Linked DNA regions of Homo sapiens: region 2 is linked to region 1. The links are contacts of gene promoters, found by promoter capture Hi-C in human tissues and cell types (Jung and others, 2019). All regions are on one chromosome and are shown on one strand. The core of a region is centred on a gene start or on the middle of the fragment in contact, and the rest is flanking DNA. Distances in the headings are between cores, read along the strand shown.

Region 1 (7,766 bases), core at 3,130-5,629:
CTGTGGAGAGATTGCTAACACAATTTGATTCAAGGCCAAAGTTTTATACTTTTGAAAGTTAAAAGAATATTCAGTATTTACAAATTATTTAAAAAACCAAATTCTTGCTTTGGTGACTCAGTACCATGACTAAATTGTGTTTTAAATGCTGTACATTTGATACGTAACTGGTATAAGTCATCTAACCACATTACCATGCCAGATATAATTATATAGCATTTTAGCAATATCTACAATTTCTGGTGGTTAAGAAGTTATAAATTCACATAGCTTAAAGACAAAGTCATGTCTTTAAGAGAAAGGTTCTTTTACTTTTTCATTGTGGCAAAAGTGCTGCTCTTTGTAACATGCATACTATGAGAGACCTGTTTGTCAATGCAACTTATCAAGCATTTATTTAGTGCCTATTGTGTATAAGTCATTTTGGGTATCAATGAGGTGGGGAGAAGGATGGAGGTGGTAAGAAGAAATACAAGAGAAAGAAGGGGTCCCAGAAGTGGGTGAGCTTTAAAACTAGTAGGGGGTGGCAGATCCTGTGACAAGTAACTATAAAGACAGGATGAAATCGATGCCAAGAAAATGCTTGAGGAATACACCATGGGAATTGGAGAGGTTGCAAGGATTAATTTTTTCAGTCTAGGAGGGTGAATCTGGTGACACTTGTCCTAGGCCTTGATGCATAAGAAGGATTCCTTGGGTCAGAAACAGAGGGAAGGATATTTCAAGCTTGAAGGAACCACACCTAGCTTATGCTACCAATAAATATTTACTTACTAGCTGATAAAACTAAACGATTTAGCAATGTGCCTGTGACTCTACAAAGTCACAGGTGGTGTTGGGTGGTGTTAGGGGTTAAATTTCAGATTATCATTTAAAAGCACCAGCCTTCCACCATTCCAAGAAGGCAGCTCAGAGAGTGGTCATACTCAATTCTGCAAACAATATTCCATTTTGTTCAGTTCCATAGAGCTACAAGAATCTTATCCTTGTTCAGACAGGGGTTCTCAACTTAAATAAGTCTACCTACAAAACTCTTTCAGGCCCATGCCCTACCTGCAGTTTTCTAAGCTCACTTCTACTCCTGTCCCAGTTAGTTTTCACAGATCCAGCACCAACCTTTACATGTAGGTTTAGTTTTTTCCAGGATTACATTTCCCCTTTCCAATATATTAGTTACAGTCACATACACTGAAGGAGGGGGACAATAAAAGCTTACATTCAAATGTGACCAAGGTAGATGTTGAAGGAGGGCTACAAGTTAGGTCATCTGGAAGGGGTGACAGAAAACTGGGGTGCAGAGAGGCAGGCAGAGGCATGGAGATTATTCTTTCCAAAAACTATAATAACTCTCTTCCAACCATTATCACACCATTAGCTAACAGGAATTGAGATCTTACCTTGGGCCAGGCAATATGCTATATGTGTTATGTGTTATCTCCTTGGCATGGGGCAGGTAATATGACTACTTCTATTTTATAGAAGAACAATCGCTAACAGAAGTTAAGTGACTTAGGCTGGGTGCAGTGGCTCACGCCCGTAATCCCAACACTTAGAGATGCTGAGGCGGGCAGATCGCTTCAGCTCAAGAGGTCAACATTGCGAAACCACGTCTCTACTAAGAATACAATAATTAACTGGGCGTGGTGGTGTGTGCTTGTAGTCCCAGCTACCTGGAAGGCTGAGGTGGGAGGATGGCTTGAGCCTGGGAGGTTGAGGCTGCAGTGCGCTGTGTTTGTGCCACTGCCTGGGCAACAAAGTGAGACCCTGCCAAAAAAGGAAGGAAGGAAGGAAGGAAGGAAGGAAAGGAGGGAGGGAGGGAGGGAGGGAGGAGACTTGTCTAAAGTCACCCAGAGAAAGAAGGAAATTAAGTGACTTGTCCAAAGTCAACCAGCGAGTTCTGTGGTAGAGCCAGGAGATACACCAAAGTCTGTGCATTTAACCTTACACCATGCTATCCCTACCCTCTTGCCTTCCCCTTCAATGTCAACCTAGAATTCTCTAAAGTTTAAGTGTCACTTATATGTAAACCATTTTGAAGGGTTCCTATGGGATAAGTGGAACAGGCCATTGCTGACTTGATATGATCGTGTTAACCAAGGCTTTTTCAGTGCACTGTATGTGCAAGGCATCATGCTAAACATGTGCATCTTCTTTTAATCTTCACAGTAGGCCTGAGAGAGCAGTGCAATTATTTTCTCTCTAACAAATGAGCAAACTGAAGCACAGGGAGGTTGAGTAATTGGTCTAAGGTCTTATTAGAAATTGACATTTCTAACAGCATTTGGATCTTGGCCAAGAGCTCTAAGATTTAGTCTCTGAGCCATACAAGATTTAGATGAATTGGGAGCCATAACAAGACCCTGCCTTAAAATTTCTCCCCCACTTGCCTGCCCCACAACCTGAAGCAAGGATCCTGTGACCCTCTCTAGCATTTAGGCATTGCTATTTGTTTCCAGGGGACGAGTGATACTGGGAACAGCATGTATTTAGTTCCTTCAAAGTCCTATGCCAGATGATACAAGGCACCCAGAGGTGAGCAAGACCCAGTGCCTGCCCTCCAGAGCTAGAGAGGGGCAGGAAGGGGATAACCAAGGCAGGTGCAATCAACAATAAAAGTGAAGTACCAAAAGCATCTGAGGTCACGCTACTCCCCTGCCTAAAATCATTCGCCAACAGCCATCACCAACAGGACACAGCCTGCTTCCCTCAGCAAGGCAGGTACAGCCACTCCTCCAACATCTGCCCACCTACCTCCTTAGCTTCATCTCTGCCTCATTGTCCCAAATCCTGTGCAATAGCCGTGACATATGACAGGCATCTCCATGTCTCTGCCTGCCTCTCTGTGCCCAGTCTTCTGTCACCCCTTCAATCTGACCTAATTTGTAGCCCTCCTTCAAGACCTACCTTGGTCACATTTGTATTTTTTATTGTCCCCCTCCTTCAGCGTAGTGACTCTACAACACTTTGTCAACCTATTATAACACTTACCCTAAAATGAAATTATTTACAAATTTGTTTCTTCAAAGGCAAGACCAGTGGCTTATTCCTCTTTTGCATGTGGCATGCTCACCCAGCACAGGGACACACCAGGCTCTCAAAGGCTGAAGGAAGCCAGAATACACATCTCTGCACAGTGCCAGGACTCTTGGGCCAGGCTAGCAGCCTGCACTGGGCACTAACTGAAGCCCTTGGGGATAAGTATTTGTAAGTTTGGGAGAAGGAAGACCTTTGGAAGAACCAAAGGCAGACCTGGGCCACCCTCAGTTAAATGGACAACACTAGTCCAGGAAATGATAAGGAAAAAGGCTTTAAGGTTCATCTCCTTCAGAGGTTTGCCTGGGCTGGCCCCATCATGGGTAACTTGTAAAAAATAGGTCGTGATACAATTTTTAAATTATTTTATTTATTTTTTTGAGACAGAGTCTTGCTCTGTCACCCAGGATGGGGTGCAGTGGTGCGATCTTGGCTCACGGCAGCCTCCACCTCTCGGGTTAAAGCGATTCTCCTGCCTCAGCTTCCTAAGTAGTTGGGACTACGGGCGCTCGCCACCACACCCAGCTAATTTTTCTTTTTTCTTTTCTAATTAGAACAGAGTTTTGCTATGTTGGCCGGGCTGGTCCCGAACTCCTGACCTCGGGTTATCCACCTGCCTCGGCCTCCCATAATGCTGGGATTACAGGTGTGAGCCACCGCGCCCGACCACAATATTGTATTTACTGTATTGCATTGTCTGCCTCCCTGCCACACAGCGTCTTCCAGGAGCTTACCAGTCCTCTGTGCATACCCCAGTAAGTAGCTCAGGCAGTGCATGACGCCCTCACCTTTCTCTAGGTATTATTGTATTTTAAAGCATCACTTCATTTAGTCCTCTCAACAACTTTTTTCCCCCCTTCTTCTATTTCACATGTGAGGAAATTGACGTCCCGAGGGTTAAAGCAAGTTACCCCATGACCGGGCTCCATACCCTCCGCGCCCCTTTCCCTGCGCGGTGGCTGTCCCTTCTCGGAGTGCAGAGGCTCCTAGTGCTCCACACTCTCGGGCTCCAAGGCCCCCTAACGCGCCGTGATAAAAATAATAATAACAATAACAACAGTGCTGCTTTATTTGCACAGAAAACAGGTTGTTTCGGGGCAAGGTACACTTGAGAAGGAGGCTAGGAACCGGAGAGAAGCAGCAGGCGGGGGCGGAGGGCGAAGGGAGGGAAGGGGAGAGGGCAGGGGCTGGCAGGCGCTGTGTGCCGGGCGAGGAGGCCGGGGCGGGCCGGGGCGGGGAGCGGGCGAAGCGCCATTGGCCCGAGCACCCGGGACCGGCCCCACCGCACCGCCCGCCGGGGGCGGGGGTAGCGGGGAGGGACTCGCGCACGCCGCTCTGCGTTGACAGTGCCGGGCGACACCCGGGCCGTGCCGCCAGCGTCCGTCGGGAGAGTGAAGGCTCGCAACGCCTTGCCCGGGGGAAGGTAACGCGCCGCGCCCGGGGCTGCGCGGTTTGCACCGCCAGGCCGAGGGCTGGGGGCCAGAAGACAAGAGAGACGGCGAGGCGCGCTCCCTGCCCGGCAGCGACTCGGAGGTGCGCACTCGGGTTCCAGTCTCTACTTGGCCCACTCGCTGTGTTACCTCGGGCAACTTTGTTTCCCTCTCTTGGTCTCTGCTTCCTCCTCTGTTAAGTGAGGGAGGTGGTGTAGAATGTTGTTCCTTAGTCTAACCAGTTCTAAAATGGGAACTGCGTTTTGGCACGGGGAAAGCTCCTTTCCTCAGTTTCCCACCTACTCCAGAGCCACCTCCGCTGCCCAGGCGGCCAGGAAGCTGGGATGCCCGGGTAGGCGAGGGTTCTGCTGAGCTATCGCGTTTTCTAGGGCTTTCAGGGACTGACCTGGGCTTGGGGCTGGGTGCTGGGGAGACCTGGCTGCAGAGTAACTGCCCCCAGATTGCTCAGGTGCAGAAAGGTAGGAGCGTCAGCACCTGTTTACAGGTGGGGTGTTGGGAAGGGCCGGCCAGGGGATGATGATTTCTCCTTTGAAAATAAGACGTGTTTTGGAATTCTCTTCCATACCCACACCTCGTCCCACGGCGAGCTATAAACTACACGAGTGGGCTTTATCATCCTTTGAAGTGGAAAAGCGACTGTTTTTAGCGTCTAAGACACAGGGCTCCACCAGCATATAGGAAGTGGGTCTCTCTTTCTCTGCACCCATCCTGCCGCGTCTTCCCTTTCTTTCCTCCTCTCTTTATAAATCCCCTTTGACCTTGAGGGGCTCCACTTCCTGCCTTAATGAAAAGTTCTTCTTTTCATTTAGTGCTGGTTTGTGACCAGCAGCCTCCAGGGCTTTGGGCGCAGGGTTGAGATAGAAGCCTAGATAAGAACAGGCTATGAATCACCCTGTCAGCCCCCTGAGCCACACAGCCCGGCAGGGATGTGCAGAGGAAGCCCGGTGGGGCTTCAGACAGATAGACCCTGGAAGGTGGGGTGGATGCAAACTGCCATCCAGCTTCCCGTCCCCTTGTTGGCAGCCATTCCCCACCAGGATGGTGACCCCTGCTGTCTGCTGGATGGAGCAGCCAGATAGAGTAGGATGATTGAAAGGAGCTGAGGACTTGGCTGGATTTCTATGGAAGGTCTCCAGCATTTCCCTTCCCTCACTTTCCTCCACCCCTGAAGTTCTGCCCCTTCTCACCCTTAGTGTGGTATCCAGGTGAAATCAGATTGCAGAACCCATCAAGAGCAGCTAGGAAGGAGAAGAGGTGTGGGGACGGCAGCAGGGCAATGTTGACTGCTGTTTAGTGGGCACTTACTATGGGCCAGACACTTCTTTGTATGTAATATATCCTTAATTCTCACAAAGCCACATGAGGGGTGATGTACTATACCCTATTTTATAGGTGAGAAACAGGCTCAGAAAGATTGCTTCCTTTAGTCACTTAGCTAGGAAGTAGCATAGCTGGAATTCAAATCCAATCTCTGATTCTAAAACCTGTGTTCTTTACACTGTCTTTGTGCTCCTTAAGTAAGAGCAAGCTGGAATAAGGAGAGCAAAAATGTCTAACATTGTGTTCTCACCAGGTGTCAGGCACTATGCAAAACATCTTAGAGCTATTATGTCATTTATGGTGCAGGAGTTTCCGTTATTCTGGAGGTAATCTGTGACTGCCTTAGCCTCTCAGCAGCAGTACTGTTCTAGAAGGCCTACCCTAATCCTGCCCAGCTGCTAGTGCGTGGGTGGGGCAGGGCCCTGTTTGCTTTATCCTAGAGGTGGTTTGGGGTCTAATGAAAGATTGATTGTCCACATCTGACCCGTTAGCCCTAACCGTTGGCTGGTGAATGATTCCACTGTCCCCTAAGAGGCCTTTTTCAGGTTTTGCTCAATAAACATTTGTGGAATGAATGAATTAGCACCTTGTGCAGAGTGGTCTGCTGCCTTGTAGAAATGTGAGGCAGCCTAGGGGAAGCCCAGGTTCCACCATCTTCAAAACCCAGATGCTAGTCTAGGTGTTTCTCCTCTTTGGGCAAGGGAGGTAGGGTGAACTGTGCCTGTATAGGCTTCCAGAGCTCCCTGGAAATATGTTTGCTTGTCACCTGTTTTACAAAGAATTTTTAAACATACAGTAGATGAAGAAAAATGTGGCTTTTTTTTTTTTTAAATTAAGAGGAAAACTTACTTGGTATTAATGAGGTTGTCACTCTCTCAAAAGTTGGGGGGATAAGATTATAATGTTTGTCTTAGGGCTTACCAAACTTTTCCATAGAAGATCCTGCAATGGAAAAGAAGACCAACACATGCTCCTGTGCTTATGCAATTTTTTTCATTTGATTTCATAATATATGGACTTTGATTTAAAAATATAAAGTTTTTTCTTCAAAATATCTGAATAAAACTGGTGTCCTGGCAGATTGTTATATATTCTTAGGGGCTTCGAGTACCCAGATGGAGAAGTAGGACCAAGGTTCTAGAGGGCTTAGACTACTGTTTGAATTTTCCACTCTCTGGTTCACAGTAATAGAGCTTCTCTAGTCCCTGGGGAGACATCCACTTTTTTCCCATTTTTCAGAATGAAGAATGTTTTAAAAATAAAAATATCCTTTATTTTCTTATTACCAAAACTAAACATATTCATTGTAGAAAAAAATATAAGATCCAGATTAACATTAATAATAATATCAGGCCGGGTGCAGTGGCTAATGCCTGGAATCCCAGCACTTTGGGAGGCCGAGGCAGGTGGATCACAAGGTCAGGAGTTCGAGACCAGCCTGGCCAATATAGTGAAACCCCATCTCTACTAAAAATACAAAACTTAGCTGCGCGTGGTGGCATGCGCCTGTAGTCCCAGCTGCTCAGGAGGCTAAGGCAGGAGAATCTCTTGAACCCGGGAGGCGGAGGTTGCAGTGAGCTGAGATCATGCCACTGTACTCCAGCCTGGGTGACAGAGCAAGACTCCATCTCAAATAATAATAATAATAATAATGATATAAATACATCTATACTCAAATAATTAAAGCAAAACTTGGGATATAGCGTTCCAAATCTTTTTCTTTGCATCTATATTAACAAATTTTAAAAACACACACACAAATACAGCCCTTTTGACTGAATTATTGTCAGAGCTAAGAGCCATCTCAGATTGTTTTTGACAGAATGTAGAGAAAAAATCATGAATAATTAAAAGCATCATGAAGGTTAATCTTGTTTGTGAGCCCCGAAGTTCACCCCTCATAATTTCCCTGTATTTATCTTGTGGGAGAGATGAGTGCTGGGCCATGGGGCTGCTGTTGAA
Region 2 (7,766 bases), core at 3,466-5,965, 370 kb before region 1:
GAAAAATGCCTTTATAACTGGCCACGTGAAAATTAAGAAAAGCTTTCCACATTCTGAAAATGTACACTAGTTTTAAAGGAAATTTGGGGGTGACACAAAGGAGCTAAGGTGTGTTAATGCCAAGTTACCATAGCAACATGCATGGCTGCTCTATCCTTCCCAATCCTGGGCCTACCCCCAGATGGGATGATGAGCCTAGTAAACACCAGAACTACGCCATTCTACATGAAATTATCTTCTCCATATACAGACAGGGGAGGCATTCATGCTTTCCCACAAATAACATTTGAAAGGAGAAGCCCTAAATGTTTACAAAACAATCTCTTCTCCTTTCTCCAGAATCAGAATCAAGATCCTGTACACCCATTGCAATGCCTGGCATGTAGTAAGTATTCAACATATAGCTGTTTAATGAATGAATGGTCAGAATTTACCTAGAAGTCCAAGGTTGGAATAGAACACTATTGTTTATTAGGAAGAAGAGACTATTAAATTATAGGCCAGGAATTTCAGAAAGGAGATTTAAGTTCATACTCCACATAATTTGGTGTCTGTTCCAAGCCACACAGCATTTTCACATCTGTATCTTCCCTGTTTATTAAATTTCTTCAGCCCATAGCTAATTCCTCTCAAATATCATACTTGTTATTCAGAATGGACACAATGCGATTTTACCAGTGTTATTCAACCTGTTACAAGGCACACATTTTCAAAGGCTGTGCAGGAACAGTATGTGAAAATGGCTTCATGAATGTGCTGTCCTCCACCCTTCCAAGTTCTTGGCTTGATCTTGCTAGAGAATGGAGCCTAAGCGGGCCTGCATCTGGGTAAATTGTTTCCTCCTTGAAAAGGGCAGAGGCAAATGTCAGTAATGCCAAGAGGGCTGTTTTTGAAATCATTCTTGTGGGATTGGAAAGCCTCTCTCGACTCAGGAGCCAGGCTCTCAGTCCCACCACGGAGTCAGGCTTTGAAAGTAGCTCATATCTGCTTCCCCCATATAGTCTCACATTTTTGGCAGAACCTCTGGGTTCTTTCTCTCTTGGAAGACATTTCCTTCTTGTAATCTCCTCACTCTTTGTATGAAACCCCTGAGGTCAAAGGGGAAGAAGAGTAAGGTCTCTTCTTCATCACCAGATTTTCAAAGAACTGTTTCAAACCAACAGCAATAACAGCACCTGCCAACTGCCAATCGTTGGCACTTTGCAAACATTATCTAAGTTAATCTTCAAAAGTCCTTGGAATACTTGGAAGGCAAGTATTTTTTATTCCCATTTTATCTTTGAGGAAATCAAGGCTCAGAGAGATTTTAGTCAGTGGCTGAGCCATTATTTAAACTCAGGTCTAGCTGGCCGTGGTGGCTCATGCCTGTAATTCCAACATTGGAAGGTTAAAATGGGAGGATCGCTTGAGCCTAGGAGTTTGAGATGAGCCTGAGAAGCATAGCAAGACTATGTCTACAAAAAATAAAAAATAAAAAAGTAGCAGGGTATGGTGGCATGTGCCTATAGTCTTAGCTTCTCTGGAAGCTGAGGTGGGAGTACTGCTTGAGCCCAGGAGTTTAAGGTTACAGTGAGCTATGATTGCACCACTGTACTCCAGCCTGGATGACAGAGTAAGACCACCATATCTAAAAAACAAGCCAACAAACAAACTCAGGTCTGAGTATATGCTTTCATCTAAAATAGCTAAAAACAACAAAAGCAGCAATAACTTTTGCCAACATCACTCTGCACTAGAGAGTTTGGGGAGAGCCAAGGAAGAAAATCCTGGCTTGAACAATACCCTCATATTGCTTAGACCTTAATCATACTAATTTTAGACCTTAATTGTAGTAGCATATGTGTTGTGCTTGGTGGCAGTAGGAAAGGACTGAGCAGGAAATACCGGACCCAGATTCTGGCTGGTTAGAAAGAGTAACAGATACCAGAGGTGGCTCTGCTTCTAATGCTCTTTCATTTCTCTCTCTTTCCGTCCTTCAAGACCCATCTCTGTGAAAACTTTCCTGACCACCCACATGATCCCCAGCATTAATCCTTTATTTTGTGCTCCTGTTGAATTTTGTTACATCTCAGTTATAGCCCTTTCTTATCATATTTTATTTTAATATACATTTCCTAACTGGCTAGAGCACCTTGAGGCCAGTACCAGTGTCAAAGTCCTCTTTGTACCCAGCACCTTGAACAGTTCCTGGTTAATAAAGCCTCAAGTCAATGTTGCTACTCAATAAAACATGACCTTCTCTTTATCTTGGTTTTTCAATTTTGAACCAGTATCCTCACTTTCCCTACATTCTGACTTGGATGGAACTTACATTCTTCTTGGCTGCCCAGCGTCTGAGCCCCCTTCCTGTGTCTGGGGAAACTGCCATTGCATGAGACATGCTGGGAGGTAGAATGTGTCTTCCCCTGATGGAAGCTGGAAAACAGGCCAGACGGTTGGCCTCCTGGGTCCCTGGCAGCTGGCGCACAAGCATATGACCTAATCTTGGCCCCCCTGATATTACTGCCTGAGACTCTAAGTTTGAAGCAAATGACCCAAGAAACTCGGACGGTTTAGAATTTGTGCTGGTGGCAGCACTGGTGTCCACTGCTCAGTGGGAGAGGAAGCAGCATTTTCACCAGGATGTTTCTGAGGTGTGGTCTTCCCCATGGTTCTTTTTCAGTTCCTGTCCATTTTCCTAGCTTGATTCTCTAGACTGCTTATCAATTCTGTGATCATCCTGCTATCTCTTTAATAAACTCTTTTTTGACTAAGATAGTCAGAGTTAGCACCTGTTACAACAAAGAGCCCTGACTGATGGACTTGGTGGCCTCACAGTACATGGTCCTGGGTCCTGGGAAACCAAAGGCCCACTTCTTCCTGATTCAAAATCAAGGCAGAGATACAGAATTACTCCTTAGTTTGCCATACTTTTAACTTTTCACATTCATTATTACATTTCATCCTCACAACTCTAACAGTAGGCAAGTGGGGTGGGTAATAAAATGAGGTTTTAAAATGAGAAAAGTGAAGCTCAATTAGTCTAGATGGCTTCCCTGAGGTCCCCAAACTGATGGCAGAACTCAAACTACAATCCAAATCTTCTGATTCCCAGCCAAAGGCTCTTTATAGGTAAATAACACTGAATTAGTTATGTTTTGACTTTTAAAACATTCATCCAAAAATATTCATTAAGTATCCATTATGTGTCAATCATTGATGAGGACAACAGACTCCCTCTATTCTAGGCTCAATACTATGGTTTCTGAAAAGTACTGTAAGTATCAGTATAAATATGTATATTAATAATACTCTACATTTGGGAAAGAGTATAATACTGTTGTTAAACCTAAGCCAGGCTGCTTGGGACCAAGCCCTTGCTCCCCTCCTCACTGTTTGTGCATAGCACATGCTGTCAATGTTCTGCCCATAACCTCTCAGCCCTCCCCTGTGCACCCTGAAGTCTGCTTACTGAGAACCCTTGTGACTCACTGCCTGAAGAGCACGCTGGGGCCCTGTGCAAGGGAAGCTGGGATTTCCAGAGTTAATATCTGAGAAATAGTCCTCAAACAGTGACAGATGGAGATTTGGAGAGAAACACCCCAGCTTCCTTGCCTCTTGGGGGAAATACTTCAGAGGCATATTCCTCTCTGTCTTCCCACATTTCCCAGTGGGATTGAGCTCCAGGTACCCTCAGTGGTAACGTCTTTGATAGCACACACTTTATCGGCTCCTTCTCTTCTGCACCTCGCTTCCCCACTTTCTGACTGGGGTTTCCTAGGATCGTCCACCAAATAAACTACCTTTGCTTGAATCCTTTTCTCAACGTCCACTTCTGAGAGAACCCAAACCAAGACACCATGAGACCTTGGGACTATGACTCAATAAGGCCCTGTAAAATGAAGATTATATTTCCTGCCTCATAGAGAGACACGTTCATGACACCAAGTAGCCTAGCTCCTGGTTTCACATAATCAACACTCCCTGTTCACCACTGTTGTGTCTGTAGCACTGTTTGTTTTCAGAGCGCTTGCCCACATGTCTTCCTTCTCAATCAGAGGAGTTTCATCTCTTACCACCCCACCACACCTGCCTGGCTCCATGCCAGATGCAGTTCTTTACTTCAGCCCTGCCCTCCCGTTTACATGTGTCTGAGATGACCACATTCCTTCACGTATTTGTGACTCAGCACATGGTGCTCTCCTTGCCTGGGTATACTTCCTCCTCCCCACATTTATCTCCTGCCTATCAAGTTCCCGCCCCAGGTTGACCTCCTCTAGGAAGCTTTCCCCCATTCTCTTCCCTTCCTCTTCTCTTCTATCCACACCGTGCATGCCCACACACCCACACACTGGGGCATTCAAGGAGGGCACCTCACCCAGGCGTGCTCTCTCCATCACTGCATATGGACCTAGAACTGTAGTTATTGGGCTTTCCTACCTGCCTGCTTTGCTAGACTGTGAACATCTGTCTAGCAGGGACTGTATCTTTTATTTCTATATTGCTGGTGCATAGCCTAGTGCCCATCTCAAAAAATGTGAAATTTTTCAGTTGAGGAAACAGAGGCTTAAAAGTTTAATTGACCCCATTAGAGTTCATACAATTAATACATGGCAGAACAAGAACTCAAAACTGATCCCATGGCTTCAAAGTTGAACATTTTTCCTACAATATCATAGCTGTGAGGATTTTTGTGCTAGAGATGCACTGCATATTCTTCCCAACATCACATCTCTTCTTAGAAAATAAACTCCATCCACAGCCTTGGAAGAAGGGCAGTTTTCCATTCAAAATGACCCAGTCTCCAGCTATAGCTGACTGGCTAGGAGTGGACATCTGACCAAAGAGAGAGCCAAGTCAGACCATCTCTCCTGAGAATCTAGAGAGATAGGATCAGTTGGCTACAGGCACTGGACCTATATGGTGGCAGACAATAAGGGCAACAGAGGGTGACATTTTGGGACTTCCGTTTTGGGTCATGTCATCTGATGAGCTGTGAGAGTTGATCTACCATAAGAAGTATAGACAGAACACGGTGATGATGATGATGATGAGAGATACAGAAACAGGGAGACCATCTTCTTCCATTTCCAGTCCTTCATGAGGTTGGGTTCTGTGAGATATACTTAATCCTTCATAAATACATTTCCTGTCTCTTAAGCTAACTCAGTTTTTTCTCTGTCTTTGAACCATATACAAGATAGCCTGTTCTCTGCAACAGAGACAAACCCTGAAGGAGCTGAAGGCTGTCTGCTGACCATATTTCCCCTGACAGAATAGCAAGTCCTTCCTAGAAGGGGAATCTAGCCAATGGGTCTCCTTGTCTATGACACCAGGTGAGGGGTATGCCATGATTATGGTTAGAGCAACCCAGATAGTCACTAATGTGTTCACCTGAGGTCAGCAAATTCATGCTTTGCCACCTAAGAGTCTGTTTTTGAAAATAAAAATTTTAATTTCATCTTTTAAAAATTAGTTATGCATTAACATTACAGATTAAAATACACCTAAAGAGCAAATGAAAGATTTAATTATAAGCACGGTGATTTTAGTATTTACACAATTTGGCACCTATCTCTATACCTCTTATGATTATCTAGTGTATGTAATATTGTCTGGGTTCTTCTATACATCTCCCTTCAGCCATGAATGCAACACACAGTTATAACTATATGTGAGCCCGTTAAAGGGTAAGTCAGATCATGTCACATCTCCAACCATAAGGTGCCACATGATCTCGCCATCTGTTGTGTAACTTCTCTGATCCAATCTCCTATGACTTCCTCCCATGTGACATTGGCCTCCATCTTCCTTCAACATGCCAGGCACATACCCGTTTCATGGCTGGATTAGTTTTCTAGGGCTGCCATTGCAAAGTACCAAAAACTGAGTGGCTCAAAACAACAGAAATTTACTGTCTCACAGTTCCGGAGGTGAAAAGTGTTAACCAGGGCCATGCTCCCACTAAAACCTGTAGGAGAGAACTCTTGCCTGCCTCTTCTGAGATTCTGGCCATGGCTGTCAACTCTCGGCATTCCTTGGCTTGCAGTTGCATCCCTTAAATCTCTCTTTTGTCATCACACAGCATATTCCCTGTGTCTCTCTGTCTCTGTGTCCTCTCATAAAAACACCATTCATATTGGATTAGGTCCCACCCTAATGACCACATCTTCACTTGATCTGCAAAGACCCTGTCTTCAAATAAGGTCACATTTCACAGGTACCAGGGCTTAGGACTTCAACATATGTTTTGGCGACGGGAAATAATTCAACCCACAACAATGGCCTTTACAGTTATTTCTCTGCTTAGAATGCTTTTTCTTCAGTTGTCTACACTGTTCACCTTCTCTTGTGCTTCCGGTCTTTACTCAAATGTTACTTACTTGGCAAGGCCTTCCTTAGCCACCTTATCTGAAATCACAACATCTGTTCCCCAGCATTTGCTAGTCCCCTTCCCTGCTTTATTTTTCTCTTTACCACTTGTAATTAGCATATTATATGTTGTATTTCACGTATTCATATTGTCTCTTGTCTGTCTCCCCTGGTAGCATGAAAACTCCAGGAAAGCAGGGATTTTTGTGACTTTTGTTCATGGTTATGTTGCCAGCATGTACAATCAAGCCTGGCACAAAGGATACTTGTTGAACGTATAAAAGAATCTCCATGTCCAAAGCCCGATATTTAGAGCTCTAAGACTTTTGCAGCTTCACCAAGAGTCAGACCTTCTCCTATAGCCACAAGCTTTAACTTCCTAACAGGAAGCCAGATGTCGTAGTTCCCCACACTGAGGACTTAGAAAGAAAAACTTATCTCAGCCCCAAAGGTCTGGTTGTTGGAACTCCAGTCCACCAAGTATATTTGAAGGAAAAACAAGGCAGTGTCTCCCCTATCTGGTCTTTTGCTTAATTTATGAAACAAAACAGAAGGGCCTGGTGCGGTGGCTCACGCCTGTAATCCCAACATTTTGAGAGGTCGAGGCAGGCGGATCACCTGAGGCCAGGAGTTTGAGACCAGCCTGCCCAACGTGGTGAAACCCCGTCTCTACTAAAAATACAAAAATTAGCCAGGCGTGGTGTTGGGTCTGTAATCCCAGCTACCCGGGAGGCTGAGGCATGAGAATCCTTTGAACCCAGGAGGCGGAGGTTGCAGTGAGCTGAGATCATGCCACTGCACTCCAGCCTGGGCGACGGAGCGAGACTCTGTCTCAAAAAAAACAAACAAACAAACAAACAAACAAAAACAGAAGGAAAGGGATTAGGGCTAGGGAATCTCTGTTTGCCAAAATAGTCTTTCCCAGTCATAACCTTTCTGTCTACCTGATGAGTTTTCCGTCTTTGCCAGGCTTCCTTCTCTCTCCTCTGATGTAGATCTATGGTTTTGCGAGGTCCAGTATTATGAAGACCTTTATGTGCAGCGGCTCCTCTAGCAACTGGCACTCATCCAGCTACATCAGAGTTCTAACGGGACTCTTGGGTTGTAAAACTTTCAGCTTGTGGTCTTGTGATGTTTATTTTGTGTCAACCTGGCTGAGCTGCAATGCCCGGATATTGGTCAAACATTATTCTGGATGTTTCTGTGAAAGTGTTTTAGATGAAATTAACATTTAATTTATTGGACTTTGAGGAAACCAGATTGCCCTTCATAATGTGGGTGTGCCTTATCCAATCAGTTGAAGGCCTAACTGGAACAAAAGACTCACCTCCTCTGAGCAAGAGGAAATTCTTTCAGCAGGCGGCCTTCAGCCTTGAACTGCAACATTAATTCTTTCTGGGTTCTGCAGACTGCTC

The links. Contacts are between HindIII fragments. The study calls those that stand out against the background at their distance.
Region 2: a contact is called between a fragment that was not itself captured here and the fragment with the promoter of SYTL2 in region 1, in 1 of the 25 tissues and cell types used here (liver).

What each region holds. Positions count from the first base shown.
Region 1 is chr11:85,807,754-85,815,519 of GRCh38, reverse strand. It overlaps SYTL2 (synaptotagmin like 2), which reads left to right and starts at 4,379. Exons shown (of 20, transcript NM_206927.4): 1 at 4,379-4,566. RefSeq lists a silencer at 4,241-4,420. The HindIII fragment of the contact is 9,754 bases long and covers 970-7,766 here.
Region 2 is chr11:86,179,617-86,187,382 of GRCh38, reverse strand. No RefSeq gene overlaps it. Among named protein-coding and RNA genes, the nearest start is that of LINC02695, 10 kb to the left of the region's middle. RefSeq lists a cis regulatory region at 3,326-3,600. The HindIII fragment of the contact is 5,124 bases long and covers 2,154-7,277 here.